Regions from separate parts of the Homo sapiens genome. Here region 2 is linked to region 1. Evidence: promoter capture Hi-C in 16 types of primary human blood cells and fetal thymus (Javierre and others, 2016). All regions are on one chromosome and are shown on one strand. The core of a region is centred on a gene start or on the middle of the fragment in contact, and the rest is flanking DNA. Distances in the headings are between cores, read along the strand shown. Region 1 holds the start of CACNA1G (calcium voltage-gated channel subunit alpha1 G). Region 2 overlaps ABCC3 (ATP binding cassette subfamily C member 3).

What was found. The method cuts DNA at HindIII sites, captures the fragments that hold promoters and counts their contacts. A CHiCAGO score of 5 or more calls a contact.
Region 2: a fragment that was not itself captured here is called in contact with the fragment with the promoter of CACNA1G in region 1 in 6 of 17 cell types (M1 macrophages, M2 macrophages, M0 macrophages and 3 more); the score reaches 10.3 in M1 macrophages.

What each region holds. Positions count from the first base shown.
Region 1 is chr17:50,556,776-50,561,964 of GRCh38, forward strand. It overlaps CACNA1G (calcium voltage-gated channel subunit alpha1 G), which reads left to right and starts at 3,940. Exons shown (of 38, transcript NM_018896.5): 1 at 3,940-4,926. The coding sequence starts at 4,685. CACNA1G-AS1 (CACNA1G antisense RNA 1) reads right to left here. Exons shown (of 2, transcript NR_038439.1): 1 at 5,153-5,189; 2 at 1-683. RefSeq lists enhancers at 3,490-3,539, 4,899-5,189 and a silencer at 3,760-4,139. The HindIII fragment of the contact is 9,044 bases long and covers 1-5,189 here.
Region 2 is chr17:50,641,566-50,646,194 of GRCh38, forward strand. The region is part of intron 1 of ABCC3 (ATP binding cassette subfamily C member 3); the gene reads left to right. Among named protein-coding and RNA genes, the nearest start is that of ABCC3, 9.0 kb to the left of the region's middle. The HindIII fragment of the contact is 9,662 bases long and covers 1-4,629 here.

The DNA of each region.
Region 1 (5,189 bases), core at 2,690-5,189:
TTGTGGGGGATGTCAGCAGTGGGGAGGAGTGAAGCAGGAAGGAACCGGGAGACTGGATGGAATTGCTCCCTTCACACGGTCACACATAGCCACACATGGTCACTGGGACCAGAGTCAGCTCTGTCTGGGCAGCCAGGCCCTCAGTGCAAGCCACCAGCCCATCTGGAGGGGATTAGTGCTCCGGCCAACAAGGTCAGCTGGCCCCTTCCTAGCTGGAGCCTACTCAACCTTGCCAGGAAGTCAGAGAGCTGGACAAGTGGAGCCCAGCCTGGGGAGGTGGAAGAGAGGGAGGATGGAGCATGGTGAAGCACAGGTGGCCTTTTTGGCAGCCCCAGCCCTGGCTTTGGAACAGTCTGGGCAGTGTGCCAACCCCTCTTGCCACTGTCGTCCCATTGACCCTCATGAATGAGTTGCGAAGGCAGTTACCTTCAGCCTCCTATGGATAAATATTCGAGGCCCAGAGAGGGTAAGAGACCTGCCTGCGACCCCTCAGCACTTCTGTTTCTCTCTGGGGTCTTGAGGGTACAATAAAGACCCCTAAGGCTTCCTCTTCTCGCAGGAGGTCCAGGCGCAGCTGTGGGGGAGGGTGCCCTTGGTGTCTTCTGTCCCTGCAGCCAGTCTGCTTTCTACTCGGCAGCTCCTCTCTCCCTCCTGGGATGAGATGTGCACGCGATGATGGGATTCTGTAAATGGGTTGGGAAGAAGGAGTTACCTCCTTAAAGGGTTAGTTCTCCCAGGAGTGCTCGAATTTCTAAAGGGGGCAGGGTCCCACATAAATCTCACTCAGAAGCAGGATTATAAGAGTTCCTGCAGCATCCCTTCCCCTTTGCTGGTCCCTCTTGAGTGTGCACCCTGTTCTACCAGCGGAACACCTGCGGGCCAGGGTCACTGGAGACAGGGCCATACCGTCTGGGCAGTCACTTAAGTAACTTCATCATTCTGAGCACCCCCCTTCCTTATCTGAAAGGTGGGGGGCCATCCACCCAGCTCTCAGGGCTGTTAAGGTGACTAAATGGGATAATGGTTGTATCATCCCTGAGCAAAGGGTATCACAGATGGGAAGATTATCTTAGCTCCGCAGGGAGCCAGATGGGCTGTGAGGGAGGGGTAAAGGCAGGGCTGGAGGGGGCTGGAGGGGCTGGCTGAGCAGGGTATATATGGGGGGGGTTCTTCCTCAAACCCAGAAAAACTCTTAGTTAGGCTTAGTGTCTTTGTTGAGAAACTGAGGCCCAAAGAAAGGAATTTCTTGTCCCTTTGTTTCCCTTTCCCTGCCTGAGGTCATTCATTCACCTAACAACTTTGTGCCCGACACTAGACAAGGCCCTAGTGAGCAAAATGAACATAGCCCCTCTGGGAACACAGAGCCTAGATAGGGAGATGATCATTTCATTACTGCAAACACAAACATATAATCCCAGCCTGGGCTAAGTGCTGTGAAGTTCCAGACTTGTGTCTGGCTCGGTGCTGTATCCTAAGCACCTTGGCACTTAAGTGGCATTGAAATACTTGCTGGAAAGAAGGCCACTCTGAGGAGGTGATGTCAGAGCTGAGGCTTGGAGGGCTGGAGTTAAATAAAGATGGTTTCAGGTCTTCTTTGCCTTCCCTGTAGGTTCTGCCTCTGCCTCCTCTCTGGCACTCAGGCTAAGGGTAAGCATCTCCGACTGGCCATCAGCCCCAACATGCCGAGTACAGGGATCAGATCCTGTCTTGCGTGGCCGGTCTCCCCTAGGTCCTGAACCCAGGGAAGTGCATGTGGATCTCAATTTATCTAGATGGTGCGTTTGTGCCTGCCCTCCTTTCGGGCATGTTCTAGAACAGAGTTCAGTCCAGAGCCCAGGGGTGGCCGGGATGATGGATGAGGGTGTGGGGCCTGCTGACCACCAGGGGACCTGATCATTGGGCTGGGCCAGCCTCTCTGTCCTCATTTTCCCCTCTGCAAAGAAGGGGTGTTGGGCGTCCCTACTTCTCGCGCCAGCCCCGGGGCCTCTATCCTGGCGGGAAGGGCAGGCCGACCCGGCAGACTGCGGCCTCTCGGGAGGGAAGAAGGTGTCAGACGCGCGGAGCAACCATAAATAGCCCCCCTTTCCCAGAAGACGGCACGGGGTTCAAGACTCAGGCGCCGCATACTCAGAATGAGAGCAGAGACTCCCGCCAGGAAAAAAAGGCACTTAGGGGATCTGCTCATTAGCATGAAATGCAAATGAGCCCGCCCGGCCTCATTTACACAACTCTGTGCATGGATTCGGCGAAAGGGCAACCAGGGAGACGACGGCGCAGCAGCCACTCTGCCACTTCCCCCATCCCCTCCCCCCATCGGCCGGGGCGGGAACTGAGACGACCCCAACCCTCTGCGGTGGCGGGAGGTGCGCGGGGGCTGCGTGGGTGGTGCAGCCTTAGGAGAGTGAACAACGCCCAGGGGTGATGGCCTCAGCAAAGTGAGGGGTGGTGATGGAGGTCATCCGACCCATCCCGCCGCCTCTCCGCAGTGGCGCAAGCGCCCCAAAATCTCCGGAGAGGGAACTGACTGACCCACTAGGTTCCGCCGTGTCTACCTCTCGCAGATGTTGGGGAAGTGCTTCCCGGCGTCTAATCCTCGCTGTTCCCCCCTCCACCGGCGCCCAGCACACCCGCGGCGCTCCGCTCCCGGGTACCCACAGCTTTCTGGAGTGGCGCCGGCGGCAGGAGAGAGCTAGAGCCGACTGAGCCCCAGAACTCGGGGAGGTAGGCGGGGCAAGGGCCGGGGTCTGCGCGTGCGTGTGCACGCGTGGAAAGCACAAACCCACGAGGGCCCGCTGCCGGTAGGGTTAAGGTGAGTGAGTGAAGGCGGCAGACCCGCGAAGTTCCAGTTCCGCGGACACTCTTTCCCTAAGCCACATAGGGACTTAAGAGAAACTGAGGCACGAAGTTGGGGGGTGGCGGTGGTGGGGACTTTGAAGGTCGAGTCGATAAAGCCCAGCTCTGTGCTTCCGCCCCCTCCCACACACTCGAGACCCCCACAGGTTCCTTCTTAGGGGTCCTCGCTCTGCTCCGCAGCCCCTCCTGGGGATCCGGGCTCTGCGGTCCAGCGCGACCTGCCTGGGGCCACGTGTTCAAGCACGAAGCCCCTGCGTGGAGTCCACGCCCTTCAAAAGGTCCCTAGGGGCAAAGGGATGAAGCCCAGGAGCGTCAATGTGAGGTCAGGTCCAGCGGGTTAGGGTTACGAGGTCAGGGTCGAAGTCTCAGAATTGACTCGGGAGTATGACCAATAAGCCCAAGAGATTTGTGGAGGCCACGCCCAGACCATGCCTACCCTAGCCTTTCTCGAGCTCCGCCCGTTTCTCCAAGACTGGGCCCCTCCAGCCTGAAGCCCCACCCCCAGGACATCCAGCTCCGCTCCTTCCCTCCCCCAGTCCCGCAGCCAAGCTCAACTCCAGGGTGGGAGATTAACCAGGTGGAGACCTGGGATTTCGCTCTGGGACCCCCTGGTGACAACCCTCACCCCCGTGCCGCCTGTCTCCTTTCTTCCCCAGGCCCGCCCAGAGCTGAGCTCCGTCCTCCGGCTGCTGCCCAAATCAGGGGTCGTGGACAAAGGATGCCTGGGGCCTGCGGCCCTACGCCAGGACCCCGCGCCGAATACTCTGATTCTTCGGGCTCCCTCCAAGGGAGTCCCAAAGACCCCAATGGCCAATAGGAAAGTGGGTTCGGTCTGGGCAGCAGTCTGATTGGCTCCAGCCTTCGGGAGCGGACCCAGGGGCAAGGGGAGGGGAGAGGGGCGGTCCTGGGTTTTGGGGTGGGAATCGGATTCCAGCTGTGGTTCTCTCCCTGCGCTCCCGCCCGCACTGCCACGGCGGACGGCCAATGGGCGCGCGGCTCGGGGCCGGCGGCGTCCGGCGATTGGCTGCGGGGCTGTCTGGGGGCGGGGCCGAGGCTTGAAGTTGAAGTGAGGGATCCAGCTGTGGTGTGCGCGGGGCTCCTCGCCGCCGCTTTCGCTCGCTCGCTCCGCGTCTCGGCCGGAGGAGGAGGCTGTGGCGCCGGCGACAGCTACGGCAGCGGCAGCCACCGCGGCGGCTGCGGCGGCGGCATCTCCGCCTCCACTCCCGCCCGGGACTGCCCCCCACTGTCTCCCCGCCCCTCCCGGACAGTGAGCCCGCGGCGGGGCGGGGGAAGGAGCCGCCCCCACCCCCTCCAAGCCCACCCCTAAAGAGATCCCTCCTCCCCTCCCCCGCCGCCTGGCGCGGAGCCGGGACGATGCTGACCCCTTAGATCCGGCTCCAGCTGCGCCGCGGGAAGAGGGGGCGCCCCTCCCCGGACCCCCGCCCTCCGCCGCTGCCCCCCTTTTCGTTCGCCCTCTCGGGGCGGCTTCGCCGAAGGTAGCGCCGAATCCGGCAACCGGAGCCTGGGCGCGAAGCGAAGAAGCCGGAACAAAGTGAGGGGGAGCCGGCCGGCTGGCCCGGGAAGCCCCAGGGGCGCAGGGGAAGCGGGACTCGCGCCGGGCGGGGTTTCCCTGCGCCCCGGCGCCCCGCGGGCAGCATGCCCCTGCGGGCAGGGGGAGCTGGGCTGAACTGGCCCTCCCGGGGGCTCAGCTTGCGCCCTAGAGCCCACCAGATGTGCCCCCGCCGGGGCCCCCGGGTTGCGTGAGGACACCTCCTCTGAGGGGCGCCGCTTGCCCCTCTCCGGATCGCCCGGGGCCCCGGCTGGCCAGAGGATGGACGAGGAGGAGGATGGAGCGGGCGCCGAGGAGTCGGGACAGCCCCGGAGCTTCATGCGGCTCAACGACCTGTCGGGGGCCGGGGGCCGGCCGGGGCCGGGGTCAGCAGAAAAGGACCCGGGCAGCGCGGACTCCGAGGCGGAGGGGCTGCCGTACCCGGCGCTGGCCCCGGTGGTTTTCTTCTACTTGAGCCAGGACAGCCGCCCGCGGAGCTGGTGTCTCCGCACGGTCTGTAACCCATATCCTTCGGGGCACGACGGCCAGGCGCGGGGTCAGAAGGGGGACGGGCCGCACCGCCGGGGGTCGGGGGGGAAGAAGACCCACCGCCAGGTGAGTCGAAGTGAGCCCGGAGGGTAGGCGGATGGGGGGGGGGCTGCCAGGGAGGGGAGGGGGCACCAGAGTGGGAGCGGAGACGCGAGCAGGTCTCGTCGGTAACCCGGGCTTACCCCACCTGCGTACACACACCTCAGTCTTCCTGGGTTGGGGGGGTGGGGATCCAGGC
Region 2 (4,629 bases), core at 986-3,485, 83 kb after region 1:
GAGTTGGCACCCTCCATTTATCTATTCATTTGTTTATTCATTCTTTTGTTCAATAGATGGTTATTGAGTACCTTCTCTGTGCCAGGCCCTGCTCTAAGCAACAGGAAATACCATCAACTGCAGAATACAGAGCTAAAGAATCTGTCTTCGTGGAGCATATACTCTAGTGGGAAGAGGCAGTAAAACAAGAATCATAAAGGCCAGGTGCAGTGGCTCATGCCTGTAATCCCAGCACTTTGGGAGGCCGAAGCAGGAGGATCACTTGAGCCCAGAAGTTCGAGACCAGTCTGGGCCACATAGTGGGACCCCATCTCTACAAAAAAATTAAAAAATTAGCTGGGCGTGGTGGCACATGCCTGTAGTCCCAGCTACTCAGGAGGCTGAGGCAGGAGGATCGCTTGAGCCCAAGAGGTCAAGATTACAGTGGGGAAAAAAAAAAAAAAAGAACAGTTGAATGTGGCACTGTCATGCCGTTCAACCTGTAATTTGAAGGTAGAATGGACAGGGTTTGCTGAGAGACCGGATGTGGGATGTGAGAGAAAGAGAAGAATCAGGGGCAACTCCAAGGACTCTGGTCTGGGAAGAGAGACAGGAGGAAGGAACTGCCATCCCCGGGCCAGGCAGGCTAGAAAGGCAGGGACGGCCAAGAGCTCAGTTCTGGACGTGTTTTGTATGACGTGTCCCATAGTTGATGTCCTAGCTCAGGGTCTGGAGTGAACCAAATAGGGAGTTAGGGGTGAGGGCCTGTGTGGGCGGGTACCCCCTGCCTCCTAGGGAGGGCCCTGCCCAGGTGGGACATGCTTATCTCAAGGAAAGGAGCCCAGGCTGAATGCCCTTGAGGGTCAAAGCAGCCACCCAGTTCTCACAGCCCCAAAGTCCCCTGGTTGTTGCCACAGAGCAGGTGTCTGCGAAACCAAAACACGGGCCTGACAGCTGGAGGCTCCATCACCCGCTTCCCTGAGTGTTGTCCCGTTGCCATCGAAGTGCTTTGCTGTTCATTCTCCCTCACCTTCTCCCCGCTGTGGGGAGGTGACCAGATGCTGTCATCACTCCCATTACTCACAGGTGGAGACTGAGGTTCAAGGGCACGAAGGGGCTCACCAACAGTTGCATGGCTCAAAAGTGGCAGAAGCCATCCTGGATTCTCCGCATCGGGGTTGGGTTCTTCCTGTGGCCACTCCCCACCCGCCTTACAGAGCCATGCCACCGGCCTGCAAGTGCACACAGCGATTCCCACCATGTCCCCACGCCTGGGCTCCTGTCCTCAACATGCACACTCCCTTGTGAGTCAATGGCCCCGTGTGGCATCACAAAGCCTGGGTGCCTGTCCCGGCCACACACTGCTGGGTGTCCTTGAACCTGTTGCCAAAGTGGGTGTAGTTTCTCTTTTGTACACTGGGCCTAACAGTGCCCCTCCTATATACCCCTGGAAGTTGTTCTGAGACAACATCCAGATAACAACTAGGTAAGTGCAGTAATAAAATGCGGGAGAAACATTAGGGGCCTTTATTTTCCTCACTTAACTGGCTGCCAGGGAAAAGCAAGGAAAGGTCAGAGGCTGGGGTGCCCCAGAGAGGCCCCATGTAGATGAGGCTCTGGCTGGGCCCAGAGAAATGGGATGTACACTCCGGCCCAGAGACCTGAAGATCTGGGTTCAGGGCAGCTTTGGGACAGGCTATCTGGATGGCAACTAACTGGAGTACCTGATCAGGCCTAGAGGTGTGTCCTGTGACCCAGTGTCCAGGCCTGGGCCAGCATGTCAGAGACTCAGCAAGAGTATGTGGGTCCTTGGCTCACATTGTTTGAGCAACTACTGAATACTGAATAGGACTACTGAATACTGAATACTGAATAGGACAAGATGTACATGGTACAACTTCTGCCCACCTGGGCCTTCAATGAAATGCCCCCAGGCAGCATGTCCCTGACTGCATGCTTCACAGAGCAGGGATAGGCCTGCCCAACGTGCCACTGTATCTGCAGAACCCAGCCCACTGCCTGACTCACCAAGGCCCTCACCAAACATTGTCAAGGCCAAGAGTGACGCTCCAGGGAAGGGGATCTCTCTAGGAGGAAGGGTGCTCAAGATGAAGAAGGTGGGTTTTCAGCCAGGCCTGTCACCCCTCCCTGGAGTGGTTAGGTTAGGATTTTGACAAGTGGTAAAAAGAGGGACTAGGTTGAGCAAGGGGGTAGGAGCAAGAATCTCAGAGCAGATTTAGGATGAAGTGAGTTGGCTGTGGGGGAAGGGAGCAATGGGAAAGGAGGTGGGAGGAGATGCCATGGGGGGGGTCTTGAGGACCAGGTTGGGTGCTAGGATGTGGCTTCATGAGCAGCAGGAGTCACTGCAGGTTTGTGGGCATGAGGCAAGAGGCACAAAGCTGTATTTTGGGAAGAGCCATCTCGCAGGTGGGCAGGGGCACTGGAGGGCAGAGGGCTGCCCCAGATGGGATTAAGAAGGGAAGGCAGGCCAGGCACAGTGGCTCACGCCTGAAATCCTGGCACTTTGGGAGGCTGAGGCGGGCGGATCACAAGGTCAGGAGTTCGAGACCAGCCTGACCAACACGGTGAAACCCCGTCTCTACTAAAAATACAAAAATTAGCTGGGCGTGGTGGCGGGCATCTGTAATCCCAGCTACTCAGGAGGCTGAGGCAGGAGAATCATTTGAACCCGGGAGGTGGAGGTTGCAGTGAGCCAAGGTCACACCACTGCACTCCAGCCTGGGTGACAGAGCCAGACTCCGTCTCAAAAAAAAAAAAAAAAAAAAAAGGAAGAAGGGAAGGCAGGCTGGGGAGGTTGGGGAAAGGAAGCAGGGAGTGCAGATCACTCCCCTTCCATGAGTTGTTTTCTTAAGATGCTAGAACTTGGCCAGGCATGGTGGCTCACCCCTGTAATCCCAGCACTTTGGGAGGCTGAGGCTGGCAGATCACTTGAGGTCAGGAGTTCCAGACCAGCCTGGCCAACATGGTGAAACCCCATCTCTACTAATAATACAAAATTTAGCTGGGTGTGGTGGTGTGCACCTGTGGTCCTAGCTACTTGGGAGGCTGAGACAGGAGAATCACTTGAACCCTGGAGGCACAGGTTGCAGAGAGCTGAGATCGTGCCACTGCACTCCAGCCGAGGTGACAGAGTGAGACTCCGTCTCAAAACCAAAACAAAACAAAAACCAAGGCCGGGTGCAGTGGCTCATGCCTGTAATCCCAGCACTTTGGGAGGCCGAGGTGGGCAGATCACAAGGTCAGGAGATCGAGACCATCCTCGCTAACACGGTAAAACCCCGTCTCTACTAAAAATACAAAAAATTAGACGGGCATGGTGGCGGGCGCCTGTAGTCTCAGCCAATCAGGAGGCTGAGGCAGGAGAATGGCGTGAACCCGGGAGGCGGAGCTTGCAGTGAGCCGAGATCACGCCACTGCACTCCAGCCTGGGCGACAGAGCGAGACTCCGTCTCAAAAACAAGCAAACAAAAAAACAGAAAACAAAAATTAGCCTGGCGTAGTGGCATGTGCCTGTAATTCCAGCTACCCAGGAGGCTGAGGTGGGAGAATCGCTTGAACCCTGGAGGCAGAGGTTGCAGTGAGCCAAGGTCGCACCACTGCACTCCAGCCTGGGTGACAGAGCGAGACTTGGCCTTAAAAAAAAAAAAAAAAGAAAGAAATTAACCAGCCGTGGTGGTGCACGCCCGTAATCCCAGCTACTCAGAAGGCTGAGGCACGAGAATCACTTGAACACGGGAGGCAGAGGTTGCAGTAAGCCAAGATTGTGCCACTGCCCTCCAGCCTGGGCGACAGAGCAAGATTCCATCAAAAAAAAAAAAAAAAAAAAAAAAAAAAGATGGGAGAACTCAGAACTCAAGCATATAGATTATTCAACAGTTCACATAGCCAGATAGTTCAAGGCCAGCTGTGGGCTTTGAATGCCATAGTAAAATGTTTGAACTTTGCCTTCTAGGCAGTAGGGAGCTACTGAAAGTTTAAAGGGATGGTATACTATTATTCTTTCATTCATTTATTCAATAAACGTGTATGTGTGTGTGTGTATTTTTTTTTTAAGAGTCCAGGTCTTGCTCTGTTGCTCAGGCTAGAGTGGAGTGGCATAATCATGGCTCACTGCAGCAACAAACTCCCGGGCTCAAGAGATCCTCCCGCCTTAGCCTCCATGTAACTGGGACTACAGGTGCCTGTCACCAGACCAGGCTAATGTTTTACATTTTTGTAGAGACAGCGTCTTGCTATGTTGCCCAGGCTGGTCTCAAACTCCTGGCCTCAAGTGATGCTCCTGCCTTGGCCTCTCAAAGCACTGGGCAATGTCCCTGGTCTTCAATAAATATTTGATTTATTTAAGCAAATCTTTTTTCTGAGCACCTACTATGTGCTAGGCACCATTCTAAGTACTTAGGATACATAGATAAATAAAATAAAGGTTCTTCCCTTCAAAGAGCTTACATGTCAGCAAGTAAAGGAAAAGATGAGAGAAAATATAATAAATCAGTAAATTATATATCATGTCAAAAGGTGATAGGTGTTATAGAGAAAAGAAAAAGCGGAGAAGGGTGGGAGAATTGGGAATACAGGGGTGGGACACAGGTGGCAGTATTAAACAGGATGGTCAGGGTAGGCTTCATTGAG